Regions from separate parts of the Homo sapiens genome. Here region 1 is linked to region 2. Evidence: promoter capture Hi-C in 16 types of primary human blood cells and fetal thymus (Javierre and others, 2016). All regions are on one chromosome and are shown on one strand. Each heading gives the region's core, a stretch centred on a gene start or on the middle of the fragment in contact. The rest is flanking DNA. Distances are from core to core; before and after follow the strand shown. Region 1 overlaps MAP2K4 (mitogen-activated protein kinase kinase 4). Region 2 holds the start of MAP2K4 (mitogen-activated protein kinase kinase 4).

Region 1 (7,039 bases), core at 2,720-5,219, 110 kb before region 2:
TGAGCATCCTAAATATACTGATTTTCTTTTACAGCATATTTCAGACAATTTCATAAATCTATTTCAACTTAAAGTAAGTTTCTGTTCCATTTTGTTAAATGCTTTCTTAGCATTACACTTCAGTATTCAAGAATTATGATTTGCAGACTCATTTTGAAATAACATGTTTACCCTCCATGCATATCCATTCATTTGTTCAACATATGTCTGAGTGCCCCACTAATCACTATGAACTGAACTGGGAGCCAGGGATACACACATAGAGCAGTTTTACAGTTGCCTCTATTTCACAGGGCCACCAGTATCAAACAGGGTCCTGTAATGGACCTTTCAAGTTCCACTCCTATGTTGGTATTAGGACAATTACAGTTCCAGTCCTCTGGTTGCAAAACCAGTATCTAAAGCCTTGTCATTGTGTAGTACCATAGCTTGCTTAAAGCTGTGGCCCAGGAAGTAACTGATATCATTTTTTTCATTCTCCAGAATGAAAAATGACCTGGAATACAGCAAGTCCATGGCATCAGATCTACACAGCATTCTGTCAGTATTTTTGTTGCATTTTTTCACCCACACAGAGGTTTGCTTTCTTTGTAAAGCTGCCATACCTTTCTGGTTTTGTGTTTTTCTATTTCATCTACTGGAGCAGAAAATTATGTCAGTGTATAAACTTATGATGCTATTTGGGTTGAAATCTTAAACTATTAACATTGACTGTCTTCTTTTTCTGAATTACAGCTGACACTAATAATGTTATCAATAATTATATTAGCTCCCCTTAGACTATCTAATAAGGTAGCCGTTAGCAAACTTAATTCCAATAAAAAATGCATTTCCTTAGTTACATTAGCCACATTTCAAATGCCAGCAGCTACCACACTAGACAGAGCAGATTATAGGACATTTCCAGCATCTCAAAAAGTTTTATTGGGAGAGCTTCAGCTCTGTCTTCTAGTTCATTAATCTCTCTTCAATGATATCTAATCTGTTGAATGCAGCTATTGTTTTAATTTATGCTTTTTATTTCTAGAAGTTCTATTTGGTTCTTTATAAATGTGTTCCCTGCTTATATTTCTAAGCTGCCTCTTTTTCTTTAAACTTATTTTTTGTTTCCTTTCATTCCAATATTTGAAGCCTTTGCAGATCTATTCCTACTATCCATTGTTTCTGATTCTCATTTCTTTTGTGAGTGTTGAGATTTTTTTGTGGACTACATATTCCACTTGACTTTATTTTTTGGAATCATTTAGTCCTAGGCTGAATGATTTGCTTTTGCTTCTGCCCATCAACTGGGGGCAAGAGGAGCATATCTTTCCAACCAGGGACTCTGAAAAGTAATTTTTCTTAAAATTAAATTCTCTAAGTATTTTTACCATATTCAATATGAATTTAGATGGCAAATCTACATTTGCTTGGGTTATCCTTTAATTTACTTTGACTCTTCCTTCTCTCCCATAATCTCCCTCCCTGAATTTCAGTCAACTTCAGAGCTCCATGGATTCCTCAGTTTTGCACCAACTCTTTTACATTTTAAGAGGGACTTTAGGTGGGGCACGATGGTTCACCCCTGTAATGCCAGAACTTTGGGAGGCTGAGGCAGGCGGATCACCTGAGGTCAGGAGTTCGAGACTAGCCTGGCCAACGTGGCAAAACCCTGTCTGTACTAAAAATACAAAAATTAGCTGGGAGTGGTGGTGCGTGCCTGTAGTCCCAGCTACTCAGGAGGCTGAGACAGGAGAATCACTTGAACCTGGGAGGTGGAGGCTGCAGTGAGCCAAGATCATGCCACTGCACTCCAGCCTGTGCGACAGAGCCAGACTCTGTCCTAAATAAATAAATGGCACTTTAAAATGCTTATCCAGGCCAGGTACAGTGGCTCACGCCACTGTAATCCCAATACTCCGGGAAGCCGAGGCAGGAGGATCGCTTAAGCCTAGGAGTTTAAGACCAACCAGGGTAATACAGTGAAATCCAGTCTCTACAAAAATTTTTTTAAGAAATTAGCCAGGTGGGCCAGGCGCAGTGGCTCGCGCCTGTAATCCCAACACTTTGGGAGGCCGAGGCAGGCGGATCACCTGAGGTCAAGAGCTGACCAACCTGACCAACATGGAGAAACCCCAACTCTACTAAAAATACAAAATTAGCCAGGTGTGGTGGTGCATGCCTGTAATCCAGCTACTCTGGAGGCTGAGGCAGGAGAATCACTTGAAACCGGGAGGTTGAGGCTGCGGTGAGCCGAGATCATGCCATTGCACTCCAGCCTGGGCAACAAGAGCAAAAGTCCGTCTCAAAACAAAAAAGCAAAAAACAACAAAAAAACAAAAATTAGCCAGGTGTAGTGGCACATTCCTGTAGTCCCAGCTACTCGGGGGGCTGAGATGGGAGGATCGCTTGAGCCTGGGAAGTTGAGGTTGCAGTAAGCTGCAATCATGCCACTGCACTCCAGTCTGGGTGACAGAGTGAGTGAGACCCTATCTCAAAATAAATAAAATAAAAAGCTTATCCAGCATTTTAGTAGTTTCAGTGCAAGTGTTGTCCAAGATATCTAATGCACCAAAGTAATGTGAAGTAACCACATTCCTCCTGTTATAGCTGTTTCTCTGCTCTTCAGGTATTGCTGACTTGGTGTTTTGTGTACATTTGTGTGCATGTGTTTTAATTGAAAACTTGTCAAGTCTTATCTTTTCTCAGAACACATCTAGATGTGGCTTCCCTCTACTCTCTTGTTTAATTTGGTCTGGTATTTTAATCTAAGAACTTGAGTTATTCTTCAAGTAGAAGGAATTTTAATTTTAATTCTTTGTCTACAATCAGCTAAATAGAATATTTTGGATTTTTCTTCTCTCTTACCATTTACCTCATGTTCATCTTTTTAGCCCTTTATTCTTAAAGATTAACTAAACGGTGTTACTTACAGATCTGGTTAACCTGCAATACTCAATCTGCTGTGTGCCACCATTTTCCCCCATTCAGTTCAGGAATCATGTTTACTATCTGAAGATAACGTTTCTGGAATTCAAATTATTCCCTCCTTACAATTTTTTACCTTGTTTTTTTTTCTGTGACATTTTAAAGGAAATATTTGTTTAGATTTCTTAGGTACAATTCTCCGAATCACTGAAAGTTTTCATCTGTTAGTGATTTTTCTTTATCACAGTTAATCTCAGCTATGGATTCAGGTTAACTGTGAGAAACAGGTGGAGAGCCATCATTGCAGTATCATCACCTAGGTGGAGAGCCATCATTGCAGTATCATCACCTAGGTGGAGAGCCATCACTGCAGCATCATCACCTACTATAGGGATTTAATTTTTGCATTTGCTCTAACAGCATGCACTGTGCTCCCGCCCTCTAACCAACACAGGCGTTGTTGTTAGAAGTTATTTCAGCAAAGCTTGAGCTTTTCTTTACAGGTCTTGCTGCTAAGAGAAAGGCAGGAGTAGATACTACTACACTGTCCCAGCTGCCTGTGAGATCTAGCACAGAAGGCATTTCCTCAAGACATTTCAGGATCGAGCTTTACTGCCTAATTAGTTGCACAATTAGGCAGTCCCACAAGTTGCCTCTTCTTCCAGGTCTGCTGCCCAAGCTACAGAGTTGTATATGGGTCTTATATCGTCCTAGTGACTTTTTATATTCCCCTCTGCACACGATAAATTTTGGATTAGGCAATCCATCCCTGAATTCAGTCTTATCCCCATCCAGAGTTTCACAAAAATTCCTCAAGAATAACATTTTTTGTTTTTTCTTCCCCCAGGACAAATAAAGAATTTTTCCCCTAAAAAAAATTCCAATGGTGATTTCAATAGATAGTTAAATTGGGAAACAGTTTAAAATATGGGCTGAGATCTGAGGAGAGCAAAATCACTTGGTGACCACTGAACAGGCCCTAGAGACAAAAATTCCTTATCTGAGGAATGCAGAAGGAGCAAAAACCACCCGATGACTATCCAACAGGCAATCTAGAAGCAAAATTCCTTATCTGGGGAAAATCAGAAGTAATTAAACTTCCCAGCCTGGCGCAGTGGCTCACGCCTGTAATCCCAGCACTCTGGGAGGCTGAAGCGGGCGGATTACTTGAGGTCAGCAGTTCAAGACCAGCCTGGCCAGTGTGGTGAAACCCCATCTCTATTAAACATACATAAATTAGCCAGGCATGGTGGCATGAGCCTGTAGTCCCAGCTACTTAGGAGGCTGAGGCAGGAGAATCGCTTGAACCTGTGAGGCAGAGGTTGCAGTGAGCTGAGATCGCGCCACTACACTCCAGCCTGGGCGACAGAGCAAGGCTCCATATTAAAAACAACAACAACAACAACAACAACAAAACCCAAGAAGTAATCAGACTTCCCTATTATCTAAAGCAGGCATTGGTTCCAGATTTTTTCCCCAAAAAAACTTTGTAAGTAACTAGAATTTCTATACATCTCCAGAATGCCATGTCGAAATTCACTGTGCAACACTTGCTGACATTAAGGAACCAAAATTACTACAAATGTAATCATTTATTGTTACCTACATGGCTAATATGGTCCAAATTATCCTCAAGCTTTAAGGTCCATAAATACCCCTAAGGAAAAATCCACTGTGGCACGCTCAGCACCCTTCTGCACTCTTCTGCAGCATACTTTCTTTCTAATAAACTTTCCTTTTTCAAACCTATACTGTTGTCTGTAAATTCTTTTTATCAACCCACGAGTCGACCATTTCCCAATGCTGAGCGCTCAGACACCTCAGTCGGCAAGGTCTTCCTTTTGAACCATTAAGTCTTATCCTTTTTTTTTTTTCCTTAGGAAAACTTTTAATCGAAGCAGACATACAGAAAACACAACTCCTAAGTGCAGAACTAAAAAGTAACAATATTCTGACTTCCAATACCTTATATTGTTTGCTTTTAACTTTCATATAGAAATAGAACCATACATACTGCTTTCTGTCTTCTTTCACTCAACATCATTCGTGAGATTTACTGAAGTTGCTGAGTGAAGCAATGGTTCTATCTTCTCTGATGCTATATACTGCTGTATACATAATGCTACAATTTATTATCTGTTCTACTGTGGAGAGAGTTTCTAATTGTAGGTTATAAATGTGCTTTTCCGGACATTCTTACATATGTCTTTTAGTGTATTTATGTCCACACTTTTGTTGGGTATATAGTCAGAACTTGAATTGCTGAACCATGGTGTATACATCAACCATATTAGATCAGCTATACTGGATACTGCTTGTTTTTCAAAGGAACTGTACTAATTTATACTCCTACAAGTTATGTATGAGACTTCCAGTTGCTTCAGATCCTCACCAATATTTGGTACTGTCAGTATTTTAAACTGTGGTCATTCTGGTAATTATAGTGGTATTTCACTGTAGTTCTGACCTGCATGTCTCCTGATTACTAATAATGCAGAATGAATGCAGTAAATTGAATATGTTTACTGGCCTCTTGAATATCATCTTTAAAGTGCCTTTCAAGTATTTTGCTATTTTTGGTTGTTATTTTTCATAAGTGTTTTACATTTTTAAGTATTCTTTACATATTCTGTGTAAAAGTCCTTCGTCGAATATAAGTATGAAAAATATCTCCTTCTACTGTGTGGCTTGGCATGTCATTCAGTGCTGTCTTTTAATCAATGGAAGTTCTTAATTTTAATGAAATCCATTTTTTTTTAATCAATCTTTCTCTTAGGTTTGGCTACTTTCTACGTTCTGTTTCAGAAATCTTTACCCAAACGTAATGAAAACATTCTCCCATATTATCCTGTATGTGCTTTTAATTTATGTAACTGAAGAAATTCAGTTTGGCAGAAACCATTCAAGGAGAGGGAAGTCATGAGAAATGTGGCTAGAGCGGGCCGGGGGCAGTGGCTCATGCCTGTAATCCCAGCGCTCTGGGAGGTCGAGGCGGGCAGATCACGAGGTCAGAAGTTCGAGATCAGCCTGGCCAACATGGTGAAAACTGTCTCTACTTAAAAAAAAAAAATTAGCTGGGTGTGGTGGCAGGTGCCTGTAATCCCAGCAGTACTCAGGAGGCTGAGGCAGAAGAATCGTTTGAACCCGGGAGGTGGAGGTTGCAGTGAGCTGCGACCACATCATTACACTCCAGCCTGGGCAACTGAGACTCCATCTCCAAAAAAACAAGAAAGAAAAAAAAAAAAAAAAAGAAATGTGACCAGAGCAATAAACTAAGTCCAGATCGTAATGGGTTCTGAAAGCCTAAATTAATTAATTTTAAGGACAAGAGGAAGTCTCTATAGAATAGTATCTCTCAGTATTTTTTTCATTATTTATCCTCCCCATCATGAAATTTAAATATGATAGATATAGTGCATATCTGTTTATATTCTATGGCCCTTTGGAGGACTAAAAACCATTATACAACCTAAGATTTTCATTTCTCCAAAATCAATTTTTGCCTCCTTAGGGTCAATATCACCCTGCTAAGAATGCATACTTTAGATAGAGAAGTAACATGATCAGATATACATCATAAAAAATACAACTCTAATAAAAAGGGGAATAATTTGGAACAAGACAATATTGGATTATAAGAAAATCAATATTGGATTATGAGAAATCTGAATGATCCAGGTTAGAGATTACAGGCAATGTCCAAGACAAAGAGTGGCAGAAAGAATGGACAAATGTGGAGAGCTAATATGAGCATATTATGAACATAAGTACACTTCAATGTAGACCTTAATGATTTGCAATGACATGGAACTATGAACCTACTCAGGGAAAACAATGGGACTCCAATGTCTAAAACTGTCACTCTATTATGGCATCAAGGGAAACAGAAATAAACATGTACAAGTACCAACACATACAGAACAAAACCAATAAAGAGATCAAGGAGTTAAAAAGAAACCCTGATGGAAGGTTCACAGGTGATCATTTTAGATATTATACCCTATGACTTACACAGATCATTTTAAGCAAATATGTCATAAAAATGAAATACATAAAATGATCACATTTATGCAATTATATAAACTATCCATACTGTGTGCAAATTAGTACAGAATTGATTGTTTTTTAAAAG
Region 2 (7,219 bases), core at 3,724-6,223:
CAAAAGCAGGACATTTCATATACATTTTATATTCAAATATTTTTGGGAGAAATAACTACATTGATTTTAAATCTCTTGACTTTTTCTTAACAGATATACTTCATTACATTTTAAAGTACTGGGCGTGTTTTCTAAAGCAGAATCAAGCTATCATCTTTCTACTTAAACTGATACATAAAAATGCTCAGCTAAGGGTAAATAGCTAAGGACTCGACTGGTCACAAAGTTTTCTGTAAATCAGAACTTTAAGAGAATCAGAGGCACCTACAACATATACTTTCTAACTATTTCTTGTAACAAGTATTTTACAAATGGCTCAATGTTTTTCTGAATCAATTATAGATTCTATTCTAACCATTTTAAGAAAACATCTATTGAAAACTGACATTTCTCAGCTAAGCGATCTTTGAAATCTATTACATTTTAAGTGATTAGTAGCTACAGCAGGCAAATAATCATGTCTAATAACAATCTGTATATACTTATAGATATTCTATAATTTTCAAAGCACTTTCACATGCATTAAGAATGTGATTCTTACAATGGCCCTACAGGTTAGGCATTATCCCTATTTTAACAGATGAGAAATTTCTGAACAGAGAGTTGAGAAAAGTTAGGGAATTTCCCTAAAATCTCAGTGTTTGTAAACAGCAGAGCAGTTACCTTAACCATGGTTTTCTGAGTCTAAGTCCAGTGCTCTTTACACTTCAACATCCTTTTGTTTCTTAAACATTACTACATGCTATGGGAACGCTAGCTGCTACAGCTACTACTGGAAAAGGAATCATCCTGCCTATGCAATTTCATTATAGAAGCTGTTGAATTCTCAACTGGCAAGCTCTATTAATCAGAATATGCTATTCTCTAACATGCCAACCATACTATCTAGTACTATTTGCTATACATATCTAAGATTAATTACCTGGTATAACGGGATCTTCTCTTTACAGGATTCACACTAACCCAGCTAAAGTCACGAGGCTTTAGATTTGCCACAAGGGAAAGCCCTAGCCATGGCTAGGAAGGTTCTTGAATGCTACAAGTCAATTCCGTACTTTAGGTTGGCTAAAATTTCTTGGACTAAAGAATAATACTTTTCCACAGAATGAGGCCCTAATATGCAAGAAATTTTCCTATTAAATCTATCTACATTAACAAATTATTGATGAAACATTAAGAATAAAAACATTTCTCAGAGTAGTTAATTTGAGTATTGTTTCCTCTCTCAAATGCAAACTCATCCTAATGCCAAATATACTTTCATAAAACCACTTACCTAACTTGGCAAACAGATCTACATTTTGTTAGCTTTAGTCATCAAAGAACCAAAGCCTAAGAACTACTCAACGTATAAAGGTTGGGTGTGTTTGTGAATGAACATGAAAAAAAAATGAGTCAGAATGAGTGAAGACACTCAAATCTTTTGAGTAATAACAAAATTAGCAGCTATTCCCTATTATCTGAGGGACAGTGGCAAAAATGGCCAGATTAGAAGCCATAACTGTTAGCATAAACATGCAACCAAAGCTACGTCTGTTGATTACTCTTATAATCAAATTCACTATAAATCCCATTCCAACCATCTACCCATCCCCTATGAAAAAAATGAGTAGAGCAAATTGATAGCTAGACTTCTGTTTCATATCGTTCACATTGTAATTCATTTGAGAGTCCTCAGATCCAGAAAAAAACAGATCCGGAGTTTGAAGTAGAATAAAATCTCATCTAGGATACTCTGAAAGGACTGCTCAATAATGAAAAGTGGGGAAATCAACAGGTTAGAGAGAACAGTGGGACCTAGTAATATGAACTAAAGAAATTGTGTGGTAAATAATGAGAGGTTAGGGACTCATTTACCAATAGTAAAAGGGACCATTAATGAGACCATAACAATATTGTCGCTACTAACAATGATGGCTAATGTGTATTGCATCCTTACTACATGTCAGGTCCCAGGCTTACATGCATTCTCAAAGCCACCGGGGAGGTAAGCGTTATTCCCACTTTCCAAGTGAGAAACTGAGGCTTCGAAAGGCCAAGTTCATTGCCCCTGGTCACAAAACGCATATCTGAATCCTGGCCAAGAGATTCAAACCCAGAACTCCAGAGCTCTGGTTCTTAAGCAGTATATTAAGAAAGCAATATTGGCCAGCCTGGACCACTCTTGGGCCATAAACATGAAGCCATGAAAAAGTATTCAAGGTTATCCAGTGCCCACCACAGTGCTTACCACATAAGAGGATGTCCAATGTCTACTGCATGAAACATTCCTTATGTTCCACAACTGAATCCTGCTGTTTCAGAGAGCATGGTCATTAACAACTCCCAGAAAGGAAGTTTTTTGAGTGGCAAGTATAATTAGATTGGGGGAGAAGGAATGGAAGTACATCAAACATCTTCTAAGGCCCACTCTGTGAAGTCTGATCTAAAGCAAAAGAAGACCCTTGGCAGATGAAGTACAGTATGGGAGGTGTGACTCCCATACAATTGGATGGGAATCTTTCTTTTTGGGTTCTTATAAGATTTCCTCTTCAAGGGCCTCACAATTAAGATACAGAACAAAACAAACCAAAAAGAAGGATCCTAAATTGCTGCTTAAGTTCAAGCTTTATAACAGACTGTTCTAGACAACATCCTGAGAATATCAAGCACTTCATTCTGACTAATGAAAAAAGTTTCAAGAACAAGATATAACACATTCCTGAATCAATCAAGACTAGACACAATATTGATAAAAAAGAAAATTCGGCAATAATTCATAGAGAGGTCTTAGGTCCTTTTTCCTTCTAAAATGGGTTCTGCTTATTAGAAAGTTTAGTTAACTGGGTATCAACATACAAGGGCTGAGGAGAACGGACAGCATCAGAAAAAGTCCTAACCACTGCCTTAGGAGTTCCTAGAACACTCCAAGCTCTTCCCTGCTTTGGAACCTTCATACACACAGTTCCTCTGCCTAGAACCGTCTTCAGGTAAAAGAGGGTTAGCTTTCCAGACAAGCCTTCTCTGACCATCTTATCAAGCGGACTGCCCTCTATTATCTTCTATCACAAAACCCAGCTTGTTACCTTTATTACTTTTCCAACTAGTAATTTTTCATGTTTAGCTAAATAGCCTTCCCTCCCCCATCTTCACAGGGGGATAACCTCCATGAGGACAGTTAGAGATGTTCAATTCTCTATAAACTCAGCATGAGCGTTTTATGCAGATGCTCAATAAATATTTTTTGAACCAAAAAAACACACTGTATCCAGCTATTTCAAACTGTCAGCCTCCCCACCAATAAAACAAACAAACAAATCACCTTGTTTTTATAAGCTTTGTAAGTCACCCATCTGGAACAAGAAATACAATCCTAAATTGTCATTTTGCCATTTCATTTCGCCCCAACCACCACCACCTAAATTGTAAAGCTGTACAGTCAGGAAGTCAATCTTATACTTCATCAGTATAATGTGCTGTGCAACACAGTGGGCATCCAATAACTAATTCAATTTGAATGAATTATCTGAGGGCCTGCACAGAAAGTGTCCTCTAAGCTCTGACATCATCCTGTCTATATATCTATCACTGGTTTTTATGTATATTAAAATTATTTCATGGGGAGGGTGACAGGGATGTAAAGATAAATAAAATCCTGTCTCTTCTTTCTGAATTATGGCATGCTCTATAAACATGAACTATTCAATAAATGTCTGTTGAACCTAACTAAATGCTAGAAGCCCTTTAAGAGGAATGGAATCAAAAAGTAACCATGGTCACACTGACTACCAAGGGTACCCCAACCCTTATTCTGTTAATAATTCAACACAAGCAGTTTGCTAAAGTTGTCAAGAGAGTTCTGAGATTCCCTGTTTTAAAAATAGCATTACTACTCAAAATTCCCCAGTAAATTTAAGGAAATGGTCCCTAACAGGCTCGGGCCTGGCCTGGTATTTTCACAACACCCCCTGTCAAAAGCCATACACAGCTAATAAGCATTCCCAGTGGGGAAAGTCATTAATTAGCAGAGCTGCCTCAAATGTCCAGACACTACAGTATCACTTTGACCCCTGTCTATTTCCTGTATCTCTCCATTTAAACCAAATTAAGTCTTCTTTTTTTTTTTTTTTTTTTTTCTTCCTGCACGCAATGCTAACACAGAAATCCCTGGCCTGGAACAAAATGCCTCTCCCAGGCCAATGCAGCCTACCTACCTTACAGGTGGCACAGGCCTGGGCAACCCGCCCCCCACCCCCATCCCTTCCAGCGCACAGAAACCCTGCAAAAGTTTGAAAACGCAGGTTCCAAGAGGCCCCCGTAGCCCGAGGTCAGCTCGGTGGTCCGGCTCCAGCTGTGCCCGGCGACAGCCAAGATGGCCCTGAGCGGGGCCCACTGCGGCGGCGGGGCCGAGGGGCGCCGGCCGGGGCCGCTGTCTTCGCCGCCTACCTGAGCGGCGTCAGGGACCAGGGGGCAGGCCCGACGCCCCTCCCGCTCCGCCGCAGCCCCGAGCCGGCGCGTTCCCGGAAACGGGGGCCGGGCGGGCGCCAGGTAAGCGGCGGGGGCGATGGGGACGGCCGCGGGGGCGGTCCCGGACCAGGTGGGCCCTGCGGGCCTGCTGAGAGCCCGGTAGGGCCCAGGGGCCAAGCGCAGGCAGAGGCCGCGGCCGGGGCCTATGCGGGCCGGAGCCCGGATCCAAGCCGGGCCGGAGGCGGCCGGGAGCGGGGCGGGAAGCCGGGGAGGGAGAGAGGGAGAAGCCGGCGGCTGCCGTGGCTTCCTCAGCCGGGTCCGGGGGCGTCCGCTGGGGCAGGCCGCGACGACGCGGGTTGCCGCGCTAGGGGGCTGGGATCTCGGCGCGGCCGCGTTCCTTACCCTGCATGCTGCTGACGGCCGGGTGGCCTGGCGCCGGGGACCCTACGGGGCCGGGGGTGCCGCTGCCGCTGCCGCCCCCGGAGCCGCCGCCGCCGCTCGGGCTCGGAGCCGCCATTGTTGGGAGTGAAGAGCCGAGCGGCGCCGCGGCGGCTGCAATGCAGCAAGCTCGGCCTCTCGCACGGCCGAGGGGCGAGGCTTACCCCCGCCTTGGCCCCGCCTCCGACACGCCCCGGACACGCCTCCTGACACGCCCCCGCCAGAGCCCGACGCGCAGCCCGGGCCAGATGCTGAGCTGCAGAACCGCCCGGCTCTGGGTGCGCGACCTGTGAAGCAGACAGCTGTCTTGGACCAGGGCTGCGGGCCCGCGGGGCCTAAAGTGGTTTGCAGAATTAAAGGTGGGCCTGCATTTGTGCGGAAAGAAGGTACGCAGCTTTCATCATTCCCATGGAGGTCTGTGACTCCCAAAAGTCCACTTTGTTGGAATCTCAGAACCCCAAATCAGAATAGTAAAGCTGAAAAGGATCCCAGGGATCCCTTTCTCCTCCAGTCGCTAACACATCACTTCCAGAAGGGAGTTACCTAGAGCTATGGTTACAGTCTGGAACTCCTCTTAAGCCCAATACCCCAACCCTCTACACTTCTCTGAGGGGAAAGGGGAGTCCCAAGGGGAACTAACCAAAGTGCTGTCCATGGACCCATCCCAAAACTACTGAATTAGAGGTTACATTTTAATAATACCACCAGGTAATTTGTATGCCCATTAAATTTGAGAAGCATATATTTAAGCACTCGACACTTCCCAGCCTCCTGAAATATGCTATCTACATCACCATCTTCCCCTAAATGCACACTGGATTCCCTCTCCCAAATCCTTTACATCTTGTATAAGACGAGCCGTAGTCATTATTGTAAGTTACATAAAATGACAACCCCAAAAAACAATATGAGGTTTCTTCCATTGCTTTGCACAGAGACTTTTATTTTAGGAAGACAGTAGCTAAAAGAAGAAAAAGTTCTCTATGAGGCTACGATTTGTAAGCCAACCATAATGTACTCGAAATGGTAAGACATGGGTTTCTGGCCAGGCAGCCTTGCCTAAAATGGAATAGCCAGTTATCCTACTTCCCAAAGAATCTAAGCCATGGAGCTGGACATTTTCTCCCATTTAGAAGCATTGTGTGATCTACAGCTAGACTTCTTTCCCAAAACTTCTTCCACCCAGATGTTATTTGATGCTGAGAGTTCTTCACAGCATGTTGGAAATGTGTCCTGGGTCAAAATAGCCCTGCCTTCTTGTTCCAAACCCAATTTCATCCATCATCTTGATGGCTCAGATCCTAAAAGTGGCTAGCCGTAAACATCAAGTGGAGAGGCATTAAAGGCAAATTGAAGGTGAGAGCAGGTAGGTGTACTTCAGTGGAGAGCCCGCCAGAATTCTCCTCCATGGGCCTCGTTGGCTGCCCAATATCTTCAAGTCCAGGTCTTATAAACATGGCCAGATTCCCATCTGGAAATCAGTAGCCCACCCAGCTCTTGTTGCTCCTAGGGCATCTTAATTATGAGCCATCATAACTGGCCTTTAATAAGAATTTAATATATATTCTTTTAATAGAAATCCTAGAAGCAGCACTACAGATTAGGCAACTACTAGAAAATTAATTTAAACACACACACACACACACACACACACACACACACACACACACATCCAATATTATAAATAACATATATTAAAGAAGGCTGGGGATGTTGGCTCACACCTGTAATCCCAGCACTTTGGGAGGCCAAGGCGGGTGGATTACGTGAGGTCAGGAGTTAGTGACCAGCCTGGCCAACGTGGTGAAACCCTGTCTCTACTAAAAATACAGAAAAAAACAAAAATTAGCCGGTGTGGTGGCAGGTACCTATAATCCCAGCTACTAGGGAGGCTGAGGCAGGAGAATCGCTTGAACCTGGGAGGCAGAGGTTGCAGTGAGCCGAGATTGTGCCACTGCACTCCAGCCTGGGTGACAGAGCAAGACTCCATCTATTAAAAAAAATATGTATATATATAGTTATATTTATATATATATAGGAAAACCTTCAACCTAGCAAATTCATTAAGGGAAATTGGGAAACTGAATTAAAAGAGAAATACAATAAAAATATAACTAATCTTATTTTTAAGAATACCTAATTCTGAGTTTGTGATAAAACTGACATATACTTGCATTGCTGTTGGTATTGTAAACTAGTAAGAGCCAATAATTAGATGTGCATATGGCAAAAACAAGAAAGCACTTTGATTTGTTCCAACTGAGGAAGCTATGTATGAGCTTTTTAACTTTTTCTTATGCTCACATTTCTCTTACATATTTGTGTTTTATGATTT

The links. Contacts are between HindIII fragments. The CHiCAGO score rates a contact against its expected background, and 5 or more counts as called.
Region 1: a fragment that was not itself captured here is called in contact with the fragment with the promoter of MAP2K4 in region 2 in 2 of 17 cell types (activated CD4 T cells and neutrophils); the score reaches 6.2 in activated CD4 T cells.

What each region holds. Positions count from the first base shown.
Region 1 is chr17:12,130,353-12,137,391 of GRCh38, reverse strand. The region is part of intron 9 of MAP2K4 (mitogen-activated protein kinase kinase 4); the gene reads right to left. Among named protein-coding and RNA genes, the nearest start is that of MIR744, 52 kb to the right of the region's middle. The HindIII fragment of the contact is 1,152 bases long and covers 3,394-4,545 here.
Region 2 is chr17:12,018,631-12,025,849 of GRCh38, reverse strand. MAP2K4 (mitogen-activated protein kinase kinase 4) reads right to left here and starts at 4,973. Exons shown (of 11, transcript NM_003010.4): 1 at 4,849-4,973. The coding sequence starts at 4,963. It also overlaps a transcript of ZNF18 not described here. RefSeq lists a silencer at 4,257-5,136 and an enhancer at 4,673-5,173. The HindIII fragment of the contact is 6,257 bases long and covers 3,318-7,219 here.